2 separate regions of the Homo sapiens genome follow, and region 1 is linked to region 2. Evidence: promoter capture Hi-C in 16 types of primary human blood cells and fetal thymus (Javierre and others, 2016). All regions are on one chromosome and are shown on one strand. The core of a region is centred on a gene start or on the middle of the fragment in contact, and the rest is flanking DNA. Distances in the headings are between cores, read along the strand shown. Region 1 overlaps ZNF253 (zinc finger protein 253). Region 2 holds the start of ZNF101 (zinc finger protein 101).

Region 1 (2,700 bases), core at 101-2,600, 220 kb before region 2:
CCAGTATAACATTGTGCTTTTAAAAGTAAATTGCCAGTTGGGCATGGTGGCTCACGCCTGTAATCACAGCACTTTGGGAGGCTGAGGTGGGTGGATCATGAGGTCGGGAGTTCAAGACCAGCCTGGCCAAGATGGTGAAACCTTGTCTCTACTAAAAATACAAAAAATTAGCCAGACATGGTGGCGGGCACATTTAATCCCAGCTACTCGGAGGGCTGCGGCAGAGAATTGCTTGAACCAGGGAGGCAAAGACTGCAGTGAGCCAAGATTGCACCACTGCACTCCAGCCTGGGCAACAGAGTGAGACGCCATCTCAAAAAAAAAAAAAAAAAAAAAAAAAAATTAAATTGTTGGCCAGGCATGATGGCTAATGCCTGTAACCCCAGCACTTTGGTAAGGCAAGGCAGGTGGATCACCTAAGGTGAGGAGACTGAGACCAGCCTGACCAACATGGTGAAACCCCATCTCAACTAAAAATACAGAAAATTAGCCAGGCATGGTAACAGGTACCTGTAATCCTAGCTACCTGAAGGCTGAGGCAGGAGAATTGCTTCAACTGTGGAGACGGAGATTGTAGTGAGCTAAGATTTTTGCCACTGCACTCCAGCCTAGGTAAGAGAGTGAGACTCTGTCACACACACACACACACACACACACACACACACACACACACACAAATATAAATTGCCAACTCCTGGTTTCTTTTTTAAAAATAAGAAAAATATTGGCACATACATCTTTATTTCTGGCATCTATGAACTTTTTTAGACACCGGCTAATGTCTCCCATGACATAAAATGCTGAAACAGTGATATGTTAGAATGACAGTTTGAGTCTGCTGAGTCTAAAGGTAAATGTTACAGAAGCAGAGAAACTGCAGTAATCCAAACAGGAATGGCTGTAGCAAGTGATTACTGATTATTAGGAAGAAATATGAATAAGCCGATTTAACTAAACAATAAACACAAAATTTTAGACAAGACACATCCTAAAAACATGTTTGAGAAATTCCCAGAATCTCTAGCCAAAACAATTGATTTCAGACTACACAAGGACAAAACTATATTATAAAGATTGGCACAGGTAGCTTTTTGTTAATGCCTGAATCTCACTCAAAGATTACAATGTATACAAAATATTTGGGCAGCATGGCCCATCAAAAAAATTATAAAATTTTCAAAAGCAGCCATAAAAAGTGAATAAAGTAATTTTTAAAATTCAGAATAAATTGAACAGGCCAAGCTTGGAAGCTCATTCCTGTAATTCTAACACATTGGGAAGCCAAGGTAGGAAAATCACATGAGGTCAGGAGTTTGAGACCAGCCTGGCCAACATGGTGAAACCCTGTAACTACTAAAAATACAAAAATTAGCTGGGCGTGGTGGCATGTGCCTGTAATCCCAGCCACGTAGGAGACTGACACACGAGAACTGCTTGAACCCAAGATGGGAAGCTTGCAGTGAGTGACTGTACCACTGCTGGCCAGGCTGGGCAACAGAGCAAGCCTGTCTCAAAAAAAAAATAAAGTAGGACAGGAACAGTGGCTCATGCCTGTAATCCCAGCACTTTGGGAGGCTGGGGTGGGTGGATCATTTGAGGTCAGGAGTTCAAGATCAGCCTGGCCAACAGAGTGAAAGCCTATCTCTACTAAAAATACAAAAATCAGCCAAATGTGGCAGCATGCACCTGTAATCCCAGCTACTGGGAGGCTGAGGCAGGAGACTCACTTGAACCTGGGAGGGGTAGGTTACAGTGAGCCAAGATCATGCCACTGCACTCTAGCCTGGGCAACAGAGTGAGACTCTGTCTCAGAAAATAAATAAATTAATTAATTACATAAAAGAAATTGAATGATATTCAGTAAGTGAAATAGGAACACAGACGACTACTGAAGATCAGAAAAATGAGGATAAACAAGAAAAAATATTAAAATAGAAAAAAACAAAAATTATGGATATAAAAAATATAAAAATAACTTAAAAATTTCTTAAAAGAAAAAATAATGTAAACATGAAGAAGCTGAACAAACTAGGATACACAAAAAGATATTTATCACAAACACACCTATAAGCAAAATTTCAAAAATCACAGATAAGAAAAGAATTTTGGGTGCTGCAAGATAAAAATGATGTGTCATTTATAAGCATAGTCTTATAAGATAACCAGTGAATTTATCAAAAAAAATTTTTGCAGAAAATAATACCATCGGCAAAATTGTACTATCATATAAAAAGGAGTCCTTCCAAAATAACCAAATCCTAAGAAAGTATATTGGCACTGCATATGCCCTACCTATCAAAGATGCTGAAAGAAGTTTCTTCCACTGAAAATAACATAATACAAGAAAACAACACATGATCATATGAAAATACATAACTTTCTGGAGAAGATATGCACATACACAAAAATAGAATTCCTTACTTATTATCATAATGGCACAGAAAGCACTTTTAGTTATTCTCTAAAATGCAAAAGATGGAAGTAGAGGAATTATTATAAACATCTGTTAATGAATATATAACATAAGTAGAATTAGCAAAATCAATAACAAAGTTGAAGGCAGATGTAATGAAGAATGTTTGCATGCAACTGAAGTTAATTTTTTACTGCATTAAAGTATATTGTTGGATCTTTTAGAGGTTTTATGTAATCCCCTAGATACCACTAAGAAACTACCTGCCTAGATACACAAAAGAAAAT
Region 2 (2,835 bases), core at 66-2,565:
CTCATCAAACAACCAGGAAAGATTAACCACGCCAGGACAGACTTTTCACCCGTTCTTCCGAGGGCAGCTGGAAGAAGTCCCTGGACGGTCCTGAAACCCAGGACCAGAAAGATAGGAGGGTGGGCTGAGGACCCAATACCCTGTGAAGTTCCCAAGAGAAGCCTCCACCCAAAGACTGTCTGATAAGGTGGCCGCGCCTAGGGAAGGTAAAAAGAGGGCAGGCACAGTGATTTTTTTTTTTTAACATCGGAGTGTCAGGGGGTTATTTTCTGCTTTGCTCGCATGTGAAATGTTCACAAACGGAAAATGAACTTTTTAAGAAGTGCCATCTAGGGCTCCTTGGAAAAGATGACAGTTAAAACACTGGGTCTTGCCAGGCGCAGTGGCTCAAGCCTGTAATCCCAGCACTTTGGGAGACCGAGGCAGGCAGATACCTGAGATCAGGACTTCAGCACGGCCAACATGGTGAACCTGTCTCTACTGAAAATACAAGTTAGCCGGACGTGGTGGCGGGCACCTGTAATTCCAGCTACTCAGGAGGCTGAGGCAGGAGAATCACTTGAACCCGGAAGACGGAGGCTGCAGTGAGCCCAGACAGTGCCACTGCACTCCAGCCTGGGCGACAGAGTGAGACTCCGTCTCAAAAATAATAGAAATAATGATAATAATAATAATGTGAAGTGGATGTACTGGAGGGAGAACTTAGGGTTGGGGAATGCGGGGAAATTTAGGGATTTACTGCAGCCCTGGGAGGAGCGAAGCTGGGGGACGGGGTCGTGGGTTTGAAACCCAGCTTCCCACACCTTTGGAAGACTCCGAAGGAAACGGGGACCGCCTAAGGGAGGAGGAACTGGGGACCCCACAGGCCACGGCTCCTCCCGCACGAACCCCACACCCGAGGCGGGATTCCCCCTAAGACCCTCCTGAGGCCCCCGCACGATCTGGGGAGACGCGGGGCTGCGGGCGCGGAGCTGCCCTGAGAGGGCTCCGGGGCCGGGACAGGACACCCGGGGTCCCGGCGGCTGGTCCAGCTCCACCCGGCGACCGAGGGGACCAAGGGTCGAGCTGCGCCTGGGGGACTCGGGTCCCAGACCCCCACAGTCGCCGCGGGGAGGCCCAGGTCCAGCCACTGCCGGTTCCGACCAGCTCCTCCTCAGGTCTCCGGACGCCCGGCTCCGCACGCTCACCATTTCCGGCTTCCGGGTGTCCTGGGTCCTTCCTGGGGCTGGAGCAGCCAGAACAGGTCCCACACGACAAAATCAGCCGTATCCGGGGCACCAGGGGCTCCCCGAGGAACTAAAACCCGGACCCGAATGGGGGGCCGGCGGGAAATGAGACCGCTTCGGGCTTTGGAAGTTGCCCCTCCTCCCGGCGCACCTGATTGGACAGTTTGCCGCACAGCGCCTCTGACTGGCTGGTGCCCCAGGTCCCGCCCCTGGGGCTTGAGCGACAGGAGAGGTGATCGGAATCCTCAAATAATCCGCTCGCTGTGTGGGGTGTGACTGACAGGTGCTACCCACAGCCCCTCGCTGGGACCTTGGACCTGGACTTGCATGGAAGCAGAACTTGCTCCCGTTAGGGTCAACCCAACCAGACTGTTCCCCTCCTTCCCCCATCAGTCTTACAATACAGTCCTTTGTGACCGCCACACAACTCCCCCCGGGCTAGAAGTAGACCTCCTCCCCACTGACCCTTCCAGTAACTGTTTGTTCAAAAGACTTCAGCTGAACCGGCAGACAGTTCCAGGATGCGGTCACAACACCTGCCCACCTTGCATAACAAAGCTGGCAAAAACATCTCCAGGATGCGGTCAGGACACCTGCACCCCCGACTCAGTTCTCACACCCCAGCCCAGTTCCTCGCCCTATAAAGCCCTGCTGTAGTCTGTAAGCGGGGCTGCCTCCTCTAACTGTGGGGGAGCAGCCCAGCAGGTTAATAAAACTTACTTGACTGACTTCAGGTCTCTTCGTCCTTTCGGCTGACCTTACAGCTCCTGGTTTTCCGGAGCAGGCCCTGTCGGCTTCCTGTACTCAGTGGGTCCTTCCTGCTGCTTTTTTTTTTTTTTTTTGAGACGGAGTTTCGCTCTTGTTGCCCAGGCTGGAATGCAATGGCACGATCTCAGCTAACTGCAACCTCCGCTTTCCGGTTTCAAGCGATTCTCCTGCCTCAGCCTCCCGGGTAGCTGCGATTACAGGCGCCCACCACCACTCCCGGCTAATTTTTGTATTTTTAGTAGAAATGGGGTTTCACCATGTTGGCCAGGCTGGTCTCGAACTCCTGATCTCGTGATCCGCCGGCCTCGGCCTCTCAAAGTGCTGGGATTACAGGCGTGAGCCACCGCGCCCAGCCGCCTCCTGCTTCTTTTTCCGGAACACCGGTCACATGAGTGTGCACGGAATTCCAGACTCCGTGTTCAGTGAAGCCATCCCTCCACCTTGGAGCTGGAGAGACTCCCAGGTCACAATGGAACAGGTAGGAGGCCCTGATGTCCTCCAGAGATCAGGAATTTATGAGGCTATTGGTCCCATGGCCAAGGCTTCCTACACGTTACTTCTTCTCAGGCTACTCCTTTTCAGCCAAGAAAATAAAAACATGCCTTAAAGGGAACAAAATTATTAAATGCAGGGAAAAACTGGAGTAAACCACTTTTTTTTTCTTTTTTTTTGAGACGGAGTCTGGCTCTGTCGCCCAGGCTGGAGTGCAGTGGCACGATCTCAGCTCATTGCAACCTCTGCCTCCCAGGTTCAAGAGATTCTCTTGCCTCAGCCTCCCGAGTCCGAGTAGCTGGAACTACAGGCATGTGCCACCATGCCCGGCCAATTTTTTTTTTTTTTT

Evidence for each region. The method cuts DNA at HindIII sites, captures the fragments that hold promoters and counts their contacts. A CHiCAGO score of 5 or more calls a contact.
Region 1: a fragment that was not itself captured here is called in contact with the fragment with the promoter of ZNF101 in region 2 in 3 of 17 cell types (total CD8 T cells, non-activated CD4 T cells and naive CD8 T cells); the score reaches 6.5 in total CD8 T cells.

What each region holds. Positions count from the first base shown.
Region 1 is chr19:19,888,475-19,891,174 of GRCh38, reverse strand. The region is part of intron 3 of ZNF253 (zinc finger protein 253); the gene reads right to left. Among named protein-coding and RNA genes, the nearest start is that of ZNF93, 11 kb to the left of the region's middle. The HindIII fragment of the contact is 211 bases long and covers 1,245-1,455 here.
Region 2 is chr19:19,667,319-19,670,153 of GRCh38, reverse strand. ZNF101 (zinc finger protein 101) reads right to left here and starts at 1,315. Exons shown (of 4, transcript NM_033204.4): 1 at 1,188-1,315. The coding sequence starts at 1,190. RefSeq lists enhancers at 494-1,059, 1,060-1,626 and a silencer at 906-1,105. The HindIII fragment of the contact is 10,038 bases long and covers 1-2,835 here.